Regions from separate parts of the Homo sapiens genome. Here all the other regions are linked to region 1. Evidence: promoter capture Hi-C in 16 types of primary human blood cells and fetal thymus (Javierre and others, 2016). All regions are on one chromosome and are shown on one strand. The core of a region is centred on a gene start or on the middle of the fragment in contact, and the rest is flanking DNA. Distances in the headings are between cores, read along the strand shown.

The links. Contacts are between HindIII fragments. The CHiCAGO score rates a contact against its expected background, and 5 or more counts as called.
Region 2: a fragment that was not itself captured here is called in contact with the fragment with the promoter of PRPF19 in region 1 in 3 of 17 cell types (naive CD4 T cells, non-activated CD4 T cells and fetal thymus); the score reaches 8.3 in naive CD4 T cells.
Region 3: a contact is called between a fragment that was not itself captured here and the fragment with the promoter of PRPF19 in region 1, in 1 of 17 cell types (naive CD4 T cells). The highest score is 6.4, in naive CD4 T cells.
Region 4: a fragment that was not itself captured here is called in contact with the fragment with the promoter of PRPF19 in region 1 in 1 of 17 cell types (non-activated CD4 T cells); the score reaches 5.2 in non-activated CD4 T cells.

The regions. Positions count from the first base shown.
Region 1 is chr11:60,904,467-60,909,361 of GRCh38, reverse strand. PRPF19 (pre-mRNA processing factor 19) reads left to right here and starts at 2,777. Exons shown (of 16, transcript NM_014502.5): 1 at 2,777-2,998. The coding sequence starts at 2,980. It overlaps PRPF19-DT (PRPF19 divergent transcript), which reads right to left and starts at 2,583. Exons shown (of 2, transcript NR_186697.1): 1 at 2,519-2,583. RefSeq lists enhancers at 2,325-2,444, 2,558-3,145 and a silencer at 3,085-3,184. The HindIII fragment of the contact is 4,469 bases long and covers 1,420-4,895 here.
Region 2 is chr11:61,386,355-61,391,249 of GRCh38, reverse strand. No RefSeq gene overlaps it. Among named protein-coding and RNA genes, the nearest start is that of TMEM216, 3.8 kb to the left of the region's middle. The HindIII fragment of the contact is 5,428 bases long and covers 59-4,895 here.
Region 3 is chr11:61,365,064-61,367,563 of GRCh38, reverse strand. TMEM138 (transmembrane protein 138) reads right to left here. Exons shown (of 5, transcript NM_016464.5): 3 at 1,348-1,519. Among named protein-coding and RNA genes, the nearest start is that of TMEM138, 3.9 kb to the right of the region's middle. The HindIII fragment of the contact is 5,415 bases long and covers 1-2,500 here.
Region 4 is chr11:61,191,866-61,196,760 of GRCh38, reverse strand. LOC124902678 (a long non-coding RNA gene) reads right to left here. Exons shown (of 4, transcript XR_007062691.1): 3 at 1,230-1,570. Among named protein-coding and RNA genes, the nearest start is that of PGA3, 9.2 kb to the left of the region's middle. RefSeq lists enhancers at 2,261-2,760, 2,761-3,262. The HindIII fragment of the contact is 5,628 bases long and covers 1-4,895 here.

The DNA.
Region 1 (4,895 bases), core at 1,528-4,027:
CAGCATGCTGAGCACTTTTGAATGAAAAGAAATGGGAAGGTCTTAGAAGCTGCCTTAGAACCAAGGACTTTCTAACCTTCTCTTGCCCCCTGACCCCCACCCTAAGTACAGGGAGAAGCTCTCTCTAGAAGTTCCCTTATCTGACTGAGAAAATTTCTTTCAGAAGAAATGCAATTGTCTCAAATCTCCCTCCACAGGAAACTCATCAAATAACCAGGAAAGATTAACCACTGGAGAAGAATAAAAACTAAAAGTCACCAACTCACCACTACACCTAGAGAGACTTTTAATCTATTCTTCTGATGGGAGCTCTAACAGATTACCTGAGAGACCTTATGTGCATAATAAGACAACCTTTGTTCACAATGGAGTTCTGCCCCTCACCTTCCCACAATTTGTTGCCACCTCCTCCAGAGCTCATAAGAACTTTGTCCCAAGGCATTGTTTGTTCTTGGGGCTCATTCATTTCCCCTAAAAATTATTTGCTAGCCCTCCCTAAAAATTATTTGCTAGCCCTCAAAATTGCCTACATTTCCCCCATCTCCGTCTTTCCTGGGTGCCATTTAAGTAAGCATCAGCCACCTGTTCCTTCTTTGAGCCTCATATTTTGTATTACTCCTGTGCACACTCACACACTAATACACTTGTATGCCTTTTCTCCTGTTATTCTGTCGATTGTCAGTTAATTTCAGCAAATCTTTAGAGGGCAGAGGGGAAACTTTTTTGCTCCATACCCTCATTCAGTTCTCAGCAAAAAAATCAGCTCCTCAGTGATGCACTCTCTAAGTGCCCTGCCTCAAGTAGCCGTTCCTCCAATCCCCAGCACCTCTGTCTACCTTGCTCTGATTTGTTGTATTCATAGCACTTACTACTCTGGAATTTTCTTCTTAAGTGTTGATTGTCTCTGTGCTCCCACCACCCACAGTAGAGTGTAAGCTCCAAGACAGCAGAAACTGTGTCTTTCTTGTTGACCTTTTCTATCTCCAGTTTTTACAATAGGGCTTGGCACATAGGAAGCACCCAATCAATATTTGTTGGATGAATGAAATGCCTGGGGAATAACATGAATAGATATTTCGTTCAAAGTGGATCACTGTCTGCTCTGTGGAAAGTAGATTAGGAGGAGGAGGCCAGGCTGGAAGCAAGGAACAAGTGGGAAGTTACTTTGTTGGTGCAAGACAGAGATGAGATGCCCTTTTGCATATTAACTCTTCATAAGAGTTCAGTGAGTTAGTTCTACCCTTGTCATCACTCCCTCTGTTTTACAGATGAGGAAACTAAGGCATAGAGAAGTTCATACTGCCAATCACCTGAGTGGTGCTAGGATTTGAGCACACAGTCTGACTTCAGAGTCCATGCTCTTGGCCACTATGCCATATTGCCTTTTGTACCTGTAACTTTTATTTTTCTCTCCAAGCTTTTGCTTACGTTGTTTCTTCTTCCGGAATGCCTTTCGTTCTCCTTCTCCTCTGAATACTGCCCACCTGTCAAAGTCCCTCTCACTCACATCCTGTTCATCCTGCCCTTTTGTCTTGATACCTTACAGTCCACACCACGTCTTTTGCATGATTCCTGAGAGTATCTTATCTTACAGATATCCACAAAGAATCATACACTATCTGAGCTGGAAGAGAAATAGAAAATACAAAATCCAAAATACAAAATAAAGAAATTTATAGGAGGCCATTGGTTTGGACTGAGCTCTTCTGCTAGGCCTAACAGACCAAGCTAAAAAGAGTTAGTCCTGCTGAAGCTCCACGCCAATAAGCTGAAACGAAGATCTTTACGACCTTCTGAGTGTGTATGTGTGTGTGTGTGTGTGTGTGTGTGTGTGTGTGTGTAGGGGGGAGCTAAATTCCCAAACAGGCAAGTTTTAGGTGGCATGATAAGTCCCCTCCACTTTAACCTTTACAAGAAAAGTAATTTTGAAATTACCAAATGACCAATCCGCTTTTTGTTCTCTGTTCCTGTTTTCCTCAGTCCTTTTCTGTCTATAAAACCAAGTTCTCCTGTTCAGCTCATTGGAACAACCATTATATTTTATAGTATGAGGCACTGCCCAATTCTATAGAATCGCACCTTAAGTCCCAGCTACTCCGGAGGCTGAGGCAGAAGGATCACTTGAGGCCAGGAGTTCCAGGATGCACCTGTGATAGCCATGATTGCTATGACCGCACCTGTGAATAGCCACTGCCTTCCAGCCTGGGCAACATTGCCAGAGTCCGTCTCTTAAGAAAAAAAAAATCTTTGAACTAAGTTTGTTGTGATTTTGTCTTTTGACAAAGAAGAAAGGGCAATGTGAATTGCCCCAAATCACAGAGCGAAATGGTAGTAGTCAGGACCAAAACACTTTCTTAGCCGTTTTCTTAGTTCTTGTACCCATCTGTTTCTGTATTTTCTTCACCAGGCCATCCAGCAGTGTCTCTTAAAGGGTAGCCCGAGAAACAACTGACTTAGAAAAGCGTGGGGCACAGTCTGTCTACGCAGACCCGAGGAATCTGCATTTTAACAAACTCACTGGGAAATTCTCGCGCACGCCAAGGTTTCAAAGACCAGGGTCCCGTGGCACAGTGCCGCACAGTTGTCAAAACAAGTGCTGTCCAATTGTTTTGGTTTTAAATTCTCACTGCGTCATGGGAAATGTAGTTTCGAGCCTCCTCTCTCCCGACGCCCCAGCCAATCCTCCGGCGCTTTACGGAACGAGCCGAGTCAATCCGGAAATAACCGAGTGTTCGTGGCGGGCCCTTTCCTGCCCGGCTGCATTCTGGGAAAGGGCAATTTCCGTTAGGTGCTGAAGGCTGTGGCGCGCGGCTGTCCCCATTCCCACGTGAAGCGCTACGCTAGCATCGCTCGGCTGGCGGCTCCCAGCTCGCCGCGGAGCAGTCCCGGCAGCAGCGGGGGACCGGAAGTGGCTCGCGGAGGCTCAGAAGCTAGTCCCGGAGCCCGGCGTGTGGCGCCTCGGAGCACGGTGACGGCGCCATGTCCCTAATCTGCTCCAGTGAGTGTTGGCTGCGGCCAAGCGCGGGTCTCAGGAGGCCAGAGAGCGGCGCGGGAGCGTGTGCGGTCCGCTGCGGCGCCCGGGCCGGGGTGGAGGCGGGAATGGGGCGCTCCGGAGGCCGAGCGGCGGCCTGTCAGCACCGGAGCCCCCCCCGTCGGAGCGGGGTGCATTTGCGCAGTGCCCCGCAGTTTACATAGTGCCTGAGGTTTATTGTCGCAGACATTACTGAGGCCGGTCGCCTCATTCTACAGAGTGGAAACAGGTCTGGACAGAGAGAGCTGGTGCAAGGGAAGCAGCCTTAATGTAGGAGTCAGAAAACTCGAGGTCTTGTCCAGGGTCCGCCTCCCATTGGCTTTATGAATTGGCTCAAGGCTCTGGGCCTCGGTTTCCCCATCTGCAAAATCGAGAGCATTGCAGTGGATGTTTTGCGAGGCCTCGCTCGGATAGTCGGAGCTTTTGCAATTTGCAAAGGTCACATGATGAGTTAGAGGTAGAGGCAAGGCTGGCAGCCAGGTATCTGGCTCCCAGCCTTACACTGTATGACTAATAAAAACAGCGCACATTTATAAGCCCTTATTGGTTTACAACGCGCTTCCAAGTCTATGATCTCATTTTATCCTCACAAGAATTCCCTAAAGGAGAAATAAAGATCCTGGTTTTGCAGATGAGGATGCAAGGCGCAGGAAGAGCGGGGCTTATCTAAGGATGCGTAGCTAGTCAGTGGCAGAGCTGGGTGACGTAGTTAGGTGACACGGATCTTGGACCCTGAATCCATGCTTTTTTCATACCTTCCACTATCTTTCCCTTTGATATTTTATCATGACGTACAGACATTTTCCTTTCCCTTTTCGTTGTTTCATCAGATTACTCGTTTCCCCTCCCTTTTGCTATTCACTTCCTTCTCTTCTCAGAACCTGTACATTGATCCAAAGAGGGGGAAGAAGGAAGGGAAATGATGGAAAAGGAATCCCTCACTTTGAAGAAATTACAGCTCGCAAAGTACCTTCACATTTATTGTTTCCTTCCAATCTTCGGGAAGCTCTCTTTTACGTTCCCCAGCACCATCCTTCCTGGCATGGTTCACTCATTTGTTAGATGTTTACCGAGTGCCCTGGGGGCATCTGCATTGTACTGGAAGTGAGAGACCAGCTGTAATCCTTATCCTCAAGGGGTGCACAGTCTACGCAGGCAAGAGTGTAAATGATACCTCTATTGCGGGTTGTTGTGAAGATGAATTACTGTACTGTATGCCTAGAATTGTGCTTGGCACATAGAAATGTGCCATGCAAATGTGCCATGTAAATATTTTTAAATATTTTTATTGTAGCGATTGCCACTTTGCTCCTTGGAATCTTCCAGGTGATAAGTGTCTGTACGCTAATCAGTTGACTGGTAGCTGGTAGACTCAATAGCTTCAGGATGGGGACTGGTCACCTAGGAAGACTAAAGGGTATTAGAAGGTTGGGATTTTCAGTCCTACCCCCCATTTACCTGGGGAAATGAGAGGAACTGAAGTCGTCACTAGTGACCAGTGATTTATTGAATCATGCCTTTGTAATGAAGTTTTCATAAAAATACAAAAGGACAGGATTCAAAGAGCTTCTGTATAGCAGAACATGTGGGGGTTCCTGGAGGGTGGGGTGCCCAGGGAAGGCATGGGAAGCTCTGTACTTCTCCCATACCTCATCCTATGCTCCTCTTCATCTGTATCCTTTGTAATATCCTTTACAATAAACTGGTAAACATAAGTGTTTCCCACAATTGTTTGAGTCACTGTTGCAAATTAATTGAACCCAAAAAGGAGGTCATGGGAACCCTGATTTACAGCTGGTAGATCAGAAGAACAGGTCAAACAACCTGGGGCTTGCGATTGGCATCTGAAGGGGCGGGGAGTCTG
Region 2 (4,895 bases), core at 1,523-4,022, 480 kb before region 1:
TCCCAAAGTGCTGGGATTACAGGTGTGATTAATGCCCCCGGCCAAGAGTGACTAAGCTTTAAGCAAAGTGCTGTACCCCTGGCTAATTGGGATGTGGTGGGGCGGTAATTGTTACTTCTAGGCTTAAAAGGGAAGGGCCTGAAACAATTCCCTGAAGCTGGAGAGTAATATGTGCATAGAAGGCCTCCCACTAGGAACCCTCACACTCTAGGAGGCTAGTGGATAAATATAGCAGGGACCTCCATTTCCCTTCTCCCATCTCTGATCTCTGCTTATGTCTCCCGCTGACACAACTTAACTGCAAGCTGGAGGGCAAGGAAGCCCTTTAGGGTAAGTAGGAAAGCGCAGAGCACAGAGGTTAAGGTGGAAAGGAATCCAGATCCTGCTTCCCCATCTTCGCTGCCTGCAAGACAAGAGACATTAGAAAAGTTCCTGCTCTGAGCCTGATATGGAAAGAAAGTGGGCCAGCTGCACCTGGCGCGGTGGCTCACACCTGTAATCCCAGCACTTTGGGAGGCTGAGGCGGGTGGATCACTTGAGGTCAGGAATTCAAGACCAGCCTGACCAACATGGTGAAACCCCATCTCTACTAAAAATACAAAATTAGCCGGGCATGATGGCACATGCCTCTAATCCCAGCTACTTGGGGGGCTGAGGCATAAGAATCGCTTGAACCTGGGAGGCGGAGGTTGCAGTGAGCTGAGACCAAGCCATTGCACTCCAGCCTGGGCAACAAGAGTGAAACTATGTCTCAAAAGAAAAACAAAGAAAGTGGGCCAGCTGCTTGTTTTTGTAAATAAAAGTTCTTTGGAGAACGTCATCATGGTCACTTACTTACATGTTATTATATATTGCAGCTTTCATGCTATTATGGCAATGTTAAGTAGTTGCAACAGAGACCACATGGCCCACAGCCTTAAATACCATCTGACCCTTTAAGAAAAAGTTGGCTAATCTATGTCAGAGTATGCCACAACTTCATAGATGCCAAAAGCTGACAGTGAGGCCAAATTACTTATGGCAAACAGCAGGAACATCAGCATGGCAACCTGGGGGCCCCCTGCTCCCAAGTCCTATGAGTGACACAATGACCCCAGATGGTGCTGCACTCAAGGAGTTATGCCACAGCTTGGTGGAGCCCAGAGCCAAAGGCTCAGTACCCTTTTTAGCAAGCAGCAAATAAAGCCAGGCCCTTTCCACTGGGGAGGGAGAAATTATACTATCATCACACTATAGTCACTTTGGTCTACTTAATTGCTTCTGTGCTCAGTATCAGGAGACAGACTTTCTGGTTTGACATAGTAAGAACATGCAGGGATGCTTAGGACCCATGCAAGACTGTCCCAACAGCCAGTGCCCTTGCTAAATTGATTATTTCTAGGAGGCTTGTTATGTACATGATCACATCATCAGTAAATAAAGACATTTTTACTTCCTTCTCAATCTCTATACCTTCAATTTCTTTTTCTTGCCTTATTGCACTGGCCAGGACTGGCAGTGTAATGTTGACTATAAGTGGTGATGATGGATAGTCTTGTCTTGTTCCTAACCTCAGGGGAAGCGTTCAATATCTCACCATTAATATGGTGGCTATAGATTTTTTTTGTAGATACTCTTTATCAGATTAAGAAAGTCCCTTATTATCCTAGTTTGCTAAAAGGCTTATGATATATTTTATTAAGTGTGTTCTCTTAATCCGTTGAGAGGACTATATGATTTTTCTCCTTTATTCTGCTAATATGAATTACATTGATTTTCAGAGGTATGACCAACCATGTCTTCCTGGAAAAAATAAAAAACCCATTTGCTTATGAGACTGTACAGAAAAAACTTAACATAGCAGACCTGAGGCTGCTGTCTTTGGAGAGGCCCAACTGCAAGGTTGACCCTTGCCTGGCGTAAGGGAACTTGGCTTTTGGTAGTGTTCCCACCAGTTTAAAGTGGCTCACAGTGCCTAAACTGTACAAACAATGTGGCTTATGCTAAATACCTGTTCTCCTTCTCAGAGTCTGGAGTTTTGAAACATGTTAGGCAGAGGGTGCCTTCATGATCAGCTCCCAGTAAAAACCTTGGGGGCTGGGTCCAGTGGCTCATGCCTGTAATCCCAGCACTTTGGGAAGCTGAGGCAGGAGGATCAATAGAGCTCAGGAGTTCAAGACCAGCCTGGACAACACAGTGAGACCCTGTCTCTACCCAAACAAAAAAATTTAGCCAGGCATGGTGGTGCACACCTGTAGTCCCAGTTACTTCGGAGGCTGAGGCAGGAAGATTGCTTGAGCCCAAGAGGTAGAGGGAAGAGGCTGCAGTGAACCATAACTGTTTAAAAAAATAAAAATAAAAAAAATAAAACTTGGACCCTGAGTCTCAAGTGAGCTTTCCTAGTAGACAACATTGCACATATGTTATCAGAATTTGTTGCTGGAGGAATGATGAACGTCTTGTGTGATTCCCCCTGAGATAGACCTCTTGGAAGCATGCTGCTAGTTTCTCCTTGACTGTGCCTCATGTATCTTTTCCCTTTGTTGACCTTGCTTTGTATTTCACTGTAATAGATCAGAGGCATGAATACACCTGTATGCTGGGTCCCATAAGTCCTTATAGCAAATCATCCAAACTGGGTGTGATCTTGGAGACCCCTGACACAGATATGTTATCCTTTTTATATGTCACTGGATTTCATTTGCTAATTTTGTTCAGGTTTTACATATGTATCATGAGAGAGATTGGTCTGTAATTTAACTTTGTCAAGGACCTTGTCAAGGGTGGGTATTAAGGTTAAGGTGGCTTCATCCAATAAAGCGAAAGGTATTTCTTCTTTTTCTATTCTCCGGAAGAGATAGTGTAAGCTAGGTAATATTTCTTCTTCAAGTATTTGAAAGAATACACTGATGAAGCCATCTAAACCTAAATTTTTTTTTTGGTGGGGGGGAGTTTAAAATAATGAAATCCCTGTACTATATATAAGAACATTCAGATATTCTACTTCTCGAGTAAGGTTTGGGTGAATTTGTGTTTGCATAAACCTTGAATAAGGTTTGGGTAAATCATTTTGTATACATTTCCAGATGTATTGGTGTGAAGGTTTTCATAACATTCCTCAATTCTTTTTTTTTCTGTATTATAAGTCAGTAGTCAGGCTGGGCGCAGTGGCTCATACCTGTAATCCCAGCACTTTGGGAGGCCAAGGCAGGCGGATCACTTGAGGTCAGGAGTTCAAGACAGCTTGGCCAACATGGTGAAACCCCATTTGTGCTAAAAATACAAAAAAATTAGCCAGGTGTGGTGGTGCATGCCTGTAGTCCCAGCTATTTGGGAGGCTGAGGCAGGAGAATCGCTAGAACCCAGGAGGTGGAGGTTGCAGTGAGCCAAGATCATGCCACTGCACTCCAGCCTGGCAACAGAGCGAGACTCTGTCTAAAGAATAATAATAACTAATTAATTTTTAAAAATTAAAAAAGTCACCAGGCAATCCTTAAATATTACTTAATGGATGTAAGAACTGCAGTGATGTCCCTTTTCTTTCATATTTTTTTCTTCAATAGTTTTGATAGGTGTTTATCAATTTTATTAACGTTTTATTTTTGTTTTTTATTTTTTTTTATGAGACAGGGTCTCACTCTATCGCCCAGGCTGCAGTGCAGTGGCACGATCTTGGCTCACTGCAACCTCTGCCTCCCAGGCTCAAGCAATTCTCGTGCCTCAGCCTCCTAAGTAGCTGGGACTACAGGCATGCACCACCACACCTGGCTAATTTTTTTTTTTTTTTTTTTGAGACGGAGTCTTGCTCTGTCGCCCAGGCTGGAGTGAAGTGGTGCGATCTCGGCTGGCTGCAAGCTCCGCCTCCCAGGTTCACGCCCTTCTCCTGCCTCAGCCTCCCGAGTAGCCGACTACAGGCACCCGCCACCATGCCCAGCTAATTTTTTTTGCATTTTTAGTAGAGACGGGGTTTCACCGTGTTAGCCAGGATGGTCTCGATCTCCTGACCTCATGATCTGCCCGCCTCAGCCTCCCAAAGTGCTGGGATTACAGGTGTGAGCCACTGCTCCCGGCTTTTTTTTTTTGTATTTTTAGTAGAGACAGGGTTTTGTCATGTTGCCCAGGCTGGTCTCGAACTGGTGAGCTCAGGCAGTCCACCTGCCTCGACCTCCCAAAGTGCTAGGATTACAAGCATCAGCCACCATGCCTGGTTTCTTATTATTATTATTATTATTATTTTATTTTTTTGAGACAGAGTCTTGCTCTGTCACCCAGGCTAGAGTGCAGTGGTGTGATCTCGGCTCACTGCAGCCTCCGCCTCCTGGGTTCAAGCAGTTCTCCTGCTTCAGCCTCCCGAGTAGCTAGGATTACAGGCGCCCACCACTGCGCCCGGCTAATTTTTGTATTTTTAGTAGAGATGGGGTTTCACCATGTTGGCCAGGCTGGTCTCGAACTCCTGACCTCATGATCCACTCGCCTCGGCCTCCCAAAGTGCTAGGATTGCAGGTGTGAGCCACCGTGCCCAGCCTTATTAATTTTTTTAAAAACAGCTTTCGACTTTCTTTTTCTTCATCGTATAAAATTTGTTTTCTATTTTACAAATTTCTGCTCTTTATAATTTCCTTCTTCTTACTTTCTTTAGGTTTTTTGTTTTGTTTTGTTTTGTTTTTGTTTTTGTTTTTTGAGACAGAGTCTGACTCTGTTGCCCAGGCTGGAGTGCAGTGGTGCGATCTCAGCTCACTGCAGCCTCCACCTCCTGGGTTCAAAGGAATTCTCCTGTCTTAGCCTCCCAAGTAGCTGAGATTGCAGGTGTGTGCCACCACACCCAGATAATTTTTGTATTTTTAGTGGAGATGAGGTTTCACCATGTTGCCCCCAGGCTGATCTTGAACTCCTAACCTCAAGTGATCTACCCGCCT
Region 3 (2,500 bases), core at 1-2,500, 460 kb before region 1:
TAATGAGATTAACGGCTTTTATAGTACAAAGCCAGGACCTATTTTGGCTCCAGGAACCAGGGCACAGAATCCTCTTCAGGAAGCACCCGGAGACTCTGGTGTTGCTTTGCTTCTTTCCTGGGACCTCTACTTCTTTCTGTGGAATCACAAGCACAACCTAACAGGGGGTTCAGGTGTGAAAGTGGCTTTAATAATGAAGTGACAACTAGAGAACCCTGAGGTTTTAGAGTTCAATTGAATTGAGTACATGAGAAATATACAAGATACTCAAAGAGCTGGAAGAATTTGTGAAGCAGAAGAAATCTGAAACCACAGACACTGGATCTGATCTGAGGCCTATGTTAGAACCAAAGGGAGGGATCCTGGAGGCCGGTTCTCCTAGTTAAAGTGATGGGAGCTTGGCAGACGGCATGGAGCACTCAAGGGCAAGCAGCAATCCTGCTTGGCTACTTCCAAAAACATCCACTGCCTACAGCATTAGCCATGGGGCACTGATGCCTAAGAATAACCTGTATCAACATCCACCTGCCCAAATAGCTAATGATGAGACACATTCAACTACCTGTTTTAGCCCTGGTAGGCCTGTTTGGGGCAAAGGTGAATTGAATGTTCTGGAAGAGTCCCCTGACTCTTGGACAAGGCTGTTTTTCAACACATAAGGTTGGTCAAGAGTACCTTATGAAACTCTCACATGCCCAGGGCTCCAACCCAAACCACTTTCATTTCACCTGTTCTCTACGAAGGATTGTGTGAGATGTCAAAGAATGAAGCTGGGTTCCCAGAGAAAAGATATCCCAGTGGCCGGGCGCAGTAGCTCACGCCTGTAATCCTAGCACTTCAGAGGCCGAGGCAGGAGGATCACGAGGTCAAGAGATTGAGACCATCCCGGCCAACATGGTGAAACCCAGTCTCTACTAAAAACACAAAAATTAGCTGGGCGTGGTGGTGCGTGCCTGTAATCCCAGGTACTCAGGAGACTGAGGGAGGAGAATTGCTTGAACCCAGGAAGCGGAGGTTGCAGTGAGCTGAGATCACGCCACTGCACTCCAGCCAGGCGACAGAGCGAGACTCTGTCTCAAAAAAAAAAAAAAAGAAAAGAAAAGAAAAGAAAAGTTATTCCTAGCCCTTTAGCGATTCAGGAATTCAGAGTTCAGGCCGGGCACAGTGACTCATGCCTGTAATTCCAGCACTTTGGGAGGCAGAAGCAGGAGAATTGCTTGAGCTTGGGAGGCAGAAGCAGGAGAATTGCTTGAGCTCAGGAGTTTGAGACCAGCCTTGGTAACAAAGTAAGACCCCACCTCTATTTAAAATAAAAATTAAAAAAAGAATTCAGACTGCCACTCTTACCATGACCCAGACATGAAGGGAGATGCTGAGGGCAAAGTACACAGCTGTCAGGATGATGGTCCCTTTGAACTTATGGAATAGGAGGTTGACCAGGCCAGCCTGGAAGACGAAGGTGTTGAAGAACATGAGGAAAATGATGATGATGTTGAAGAGGACTGCAATATCCTGGATGCTGTAGACATAAAAAAAAGTACAACCAATGAAGGCCTGTGTGAGGACCCAAGAGCAGGTACTATGTCCTGAGGGACACCACGAGGCCTGTCCTTTGTTGTGAGATAGGCATCTGACATCTTAAACCCTCACAGAGATAACATGGGTTTTGGGACCTGAATGACATGAAGCTAAAATTACCTAAAATTACCCACTGGCCCCATCAGTTGGGTTTGCAGTCCATAGTCAAGGCTTTCCTGCTCTAATACTCTTTTTTATTTTTAAAATTTCTTCCATACATAGTCCTATAGAAGATTCTCTGATACTCCTTATTTTTCGAGACAGGGTTTCATTCTGTTGCCCAGACTGGAGTGCAGTGGTATGATCACAGCTCACTGCAGCAACTTCCTGGGCTCAAGTGATCCTCCCGCCTCACCCTCCTGAGTAGCTGTGACCACAGGTGTGTGCCACTATACTCAGCTAATTAAAAAAAAAATTAGCTCATGCCTGTAATCCCAGCACTTTGGGAGGCCGAGGTGGGCAGATCACTTGAGGTCAAGAGTTTGAGACCAGCCTGGCCAACATGGCAAAACCCCGTCTCTACTAAAAATACAAAAAGTAGCTGGGTGTGGTAAATACATAGTGGGGTGTGGTAGCGCACACCTATAATCCCAGCTACTAGGGAGGCTGAGGCAGGAGAATTGCTTGAACCCAGGGGGCGGAGGTTGCAGTGAGCTGAGATTGTGCCACTGTACTCCAGCCTGGCGACACAGCTAGACTCCATCTCAAAAAAAAAAAAATAAAATTATGTTTTAATAGAAACAAGGTCTCACTATGTTGCCCAGGCTATCTGACACTCTTAAACATTTTTTTTTTTTTGAGATGGAGTCTTGTTCTGTCGCCCAGGCTGGAGTGCAGTGGCATGATCATGGCTCACTGCAACCTCTGCCTCCCAGGTTCAAGTGATTCTCCTGCCTCAGCCTCCCAAGAAGCTGGGATTACA
Region 4 (4,895 bases), core at 883-3,382, 290 kb before region 1:
TATTTCAAACTATAGAACTTACTATTGCTAGTTACAGTCATTCTAATACACATTCTTTTTTTTTTTTTTTTTTTGAGACAGGGTCTTGCTCTGTCACCCAGGCTAGAGTGTAGAAGCACAATTATGGCTCACCACAGCCTTGACCTCCCAGACTCAAGCAATCCTCCCACCTCAGCCTCTCAAGTAGCTGGTACCACAGGTGTGTGCCACCATGCCTGGCTAATTTTTTTTATTTTTGTGTAGACGGGGTCTCCCTGTGTTGCCCAGGCTGGTCTCAAACTCCTGGGCTCAAGTGATCCACCTGCCTTGGCCTCCCAAGGTCCTGGGATTACAGGCGTGAGCCACTGTGCCCGGCTTCTAATACACATCTTTTAGAGAACATATGTATGTGTTTCTGTTGGGTGTATACTCAGAGTGGAGTGTGTCCTTGAGCAGGAAGGGTGCTGGGGTCTATGGTCCAAGCTCTCAAGGGAGAGTCAGGAAGCAGAGAGGAGGCACTGGGGGCAAGAATTTGCCCAAGCCCTGGGAAGGGAGTAAGAGAGCCGGGAATCTCAACCACAGCCTCCCAACACCAAGCTGCTCGGCCCCCAGAAAGGGTTCTGACACCTGCTTTGGGCAAAATACAAGAGAAGGTCTTGGAGGAGGCAGTGACAGAAATTCGGTACTGGGCAGAGCAAGGGTTAACTGGAAGCAAAAAAGAAAATGTTTGGAAACTGGGAGTGGGCTGGGGGCAGATGGAGGGAGGATGGAGCTATTAAGCAGGAGCTGGAAAATTCCTGGGAACTGGGGCATGACCAGGAAGTTGGCCTGCAGTCTCCAGGCGGGCATGGGGAGATTCTGGGCCAGCCTCCCCAGCCCCTCACAGCCCTGCTCTCCCTCAGAGCACCTGCCTTGAGCTGCGCCTGCCCAGAGCCCCAGTGTAAACCCACTGAAACTGGTGGCCTGGGGTGTGAACCCCTCTTGGGGACAGAGGTTAAGGTCCCCTGATAGTGCGTCCTGCCCCCGACAGCCGCAGCTCTTTTGTCCTCGGTATCTCAAATACCACGTTACTCCCAGGTGTGCACAGCTCTGGACCTGGCCTCCTCAGCCTTTTCTGATCCAATCTGTCCCCATCTACGCCCTGTTCCTTCTAAGGGGTGACCTGAATCCTGGTTTCTGACCTGTGACTCTGCCACCATTGGTGCCAGGGGCAGTAGGCTGGGGGTGTGGCCAGAGGGTATTTAAAGCACCTGTCCTGGGCCTCCTGCTCCAGATGGGAGAGCCAGGGAGCCCAGCTGCCTGCTCCTCCAAAGGACCTGCAGCAGCAGCTTTGAGGGTCTTCGTGCCTTAGCCTGGGGTGGGCGGCAAGGCAGCAGATTCAAGCAGAAGGCTCTGACGTCTTCTTACAGCCTACTCCCTGGCCAAACTGGCCATGCTTATGAGCGCTTTGCCTTGTTCATCTTCTCGTTCATTCACTCATTCATACATTCCACATGCCAGGCAGTAGGCTTGATAGAGATGAATCAGCCATGAGTTTTGTCCTCAGTGGGTTTACATCTGAGTGAGAGAAGTAAGACCCATACCTCAGTCACTGTAATAAAAAGCAGAAAACAGTAGAAATTATTAACTAGGGCAGACACTAAGAAGGGTATAAAAGGGACAGAGTGCTAGTCATTCAAGAAAAGGAGCTTACTTCCAAGGGACATATGGGAGGCCATCGTGGAGGAGGAGGCATTTAAACTGTCTTAGTATCTGGAGGCTGAAATCAGTCCAGGAGTGTGTTCCTCCTTCCTAGGGGAGCATCTCATTTTTACAAAGATCTGGACCTGGGGCAGTGTAGATGTTGAGTGAATGGTTGAGCATTAAGCATCCAGGCTGACTGTCAGGTATGAAGTTTTCATTGCTAGAAAAGGTAGAGAGGAGGGCTGGGCATGGTGGCTCATGCGTGTGATCCCAGCACTTTGGGAGGCCGAGGCGGGCGGATCATGAGGTCAGGAGTTCAAGACCAGCCTGACCAACATGGTAAAACCCCGTCTCTACTAAAAATACAAAAATTATCCAGGCATGGTGGCGCGTGCCTGTAATCCCAGCTACTCAGAGGGCTGAGGCAGGAGAATCGCTTGAACTCGGAAGGCAGAGGTTGCAGTGAGCTGAGATTGCAGCATTGCACTCCAGCCTGGGCAACAGAGCGAGACTTTATCTAAAAAAAAAAAAAAAAAGAAAGAAAGAAAAAAAAAAAAAAAAGGAAAGGTAGAGGAGGCTTCTGGGCCTGGCTGGAGGCTCCAAAACCACGCCACTGTGGAGGAGGAACACAAGCCTCCTGTTTTCGACCTCAGCAAGGGGTGTGCCTGTGTAATCCACGGTGGAGCCTGGAGCCTGCTCCTGTGTCCCAGTCCACGCTCCGGGATGGGCTCAGGTAAAGCTGTAGGCAGGCCCCGGCCAATGCGTCCTCCGGGGGTGGGGGATGTGGGGCTCAGGTGGGAGGTGTCACAGTTCCCAGTTTCAATGCTGAGAGCTGTGACCTGGGCTGGAACAGCTTGCCTTCCTGCCCTCCTGCCCTGGGCGGTCTGAATTCTCCCACTGGGCTACATCCTCCCCTGCCTCTGAGCCTTGGCACAAGCTGTTCCCTTTGAAAGCGTTTCTCTGTCATTACCTAGAGTGTCAGAATCCTTGTGGAAACAGGTGGCCCACCTAGAGGTTTGAAGAGATTTAGTGAGGGGGTGGGCAAGGGTAAAGGACCCCAAAAGCGATGAGGAGGCACCGGGAGCCAGCAGCAGTGGAAAATCAAAAGGAGCGCAGGGAGGGACTAGCACTGCCAGGACCCAGCTCGAGCTGGGGCTGAAGGTGGAGGGTACTGGAGCCTGGGGGTCAGTCTCTCCGCCTCGGAGCAAGGCAGATCCCGGTGGAAGGCAGGAGAGAGGAGGAGGGGGAGGGCCCTTGCTAATGCTCTCCTTCAGACCCTGCTCCCCCGTACCTTCCTCCCATGTCCTGCTGCCGCCTTGCCCCCCAGCACCCAGCAGATGGTGCGTGACCACCTGCAGTCGACCCTGTGCTCAAGGGGAGGGGCGGGGTCTTATCCTTTTCCTCTGGCACCCACCCCAGTCTGGCACAGAGCCCAGAGATATCAGTATGTAAAAATGGCAAGGAGAGCCGGGCACGGAGGCTCATCCTGTAATCCCAGCACTTTGGGAGGCCAAGGTGGGTGGATTGCTTCAGTCCAGGAGTTCGAGACCAGCCTGGCCAACATGGTGAAACTCTGTTTCTACTAAAAATAGAAAAAATTAGCCAGGCATGGTGGCACACGCCTGTAGTCCCAGCTACTCAGAAGGCTGAGGTGGAGAATCACCTGAGCCCAGAAGGTTGAGACTGCAGTGAGCCATAACTGTGTCACTGCACTCCAGCCTGGGCGACCCGAGTGAAACCCTGTTTCAACAACAACAAAAGAAAATATTTTAAATCTACAGAAAAAGTGCCAGAATAGTGCAACAAATTCCCATATATTTGGGAGGCTGAGGAGGGCAGATCACCTGAGGTCAGGAGTTAGAGACCAGCCTGGCCAACATGGCAAAACCCCATCTCTACTAAAAATACAAAAAAATTAGCCGGGCGTGGTGGTGCATGCTTGTGATCCCAGCTACTAGGGAGGCTGAGGTGGGAGAATGGCTTGAACCTGGGAGGTGGACGTGGCAGTGAGCCAAGATGGCACCACTGCACTCCAGCCTGGGTGACTGAGCGAAACTCCCTCTCCAAAACAAACAAACAAACAAACAAACAAACAAACACCTCCCACAAATTCCCATATATATTTCACTCAGATTCATTATTATTATTATAATTGCTTTTAGATTCACGTATTGACATTTTACTGAATTTATTCTCTTTGTCTCTCTCTCCATACACATGCATACATGCATATTATTATTATTTTGGCTGAATGATTTGAGTCAATTGCAGACATCATGATCCTTTGCTCCTAAATCTTTAGTGTGTGTTTCTAAGGACATTTGCTTACGTGGATGATGTCAAAATGACCACAGGCAGTAAGTCTTACATTGATACGATACTATTATCTAATACACAGCACATATTCAGATTTCACCAGTTGTCCTAAAATTGTCCTTTTTTGTGATTTTTAATTTTCTGTTCCACAACTCAATCCAGGATCGCACATTCTTTTGGGTTCCAGGTCTCCCAGGTGTCCTTTGATCTTGAACAGTCCCTCCCTCTGCCTTTTTCATTCATCACGTTGACACTTTTGAAGAGTATAGGCCAGTTGTTTTGCAGAATGTCCCTCAACTAGGGTTTGTTTGATGTATTCTTTCTTTATTATTATTATTTTTTGAGACTGAGTCTTGCTCTGTTGCCCAGGCTGGAGTGTAATGGCGCAATCTTGGCTCACTGCAACCTCTGCCTCCCCAGTTCAAGCAATTCTCATGCCTCAGCGACCCCAGTCGCTAGGATTACAGGTGCACACCACCACGCCCGGCTAATTTTTTAATTTTTATTTATTTATTTATTTATTCATTTATAGAGATGGAGTTTCACTATTGTCGCCCAGGCTGGAGTGCAATGGAGTGATCTCGGCTCACTGCAACCTCCACCTCCCAGGTTCAAGCAGCTAATTTTTGTATTTTTAGTAGAGACGGGGTTTCACCATATTGTCCAGGCTGGTCTGCCACTCCTGACCTCAGGTGATCTGCCCGCCTCGGCCTCCCAAAGTGCTAGGATTATAGGTGTGAGCCACCGCACCCAGCCTAATTTTTGTATTTTTAGCAGAGCCAGAGTTTCTCCATGTTGGTCAGGCTGGTCTCAAACTCCTGACCTCAAGTGATCTGCCCACCTCAGCCTCCCAAAGTGTTGGGATTATGGGCATGAGCCACCGCACCCGGCCTAGGGGTGACTTTCTAATTCTATCA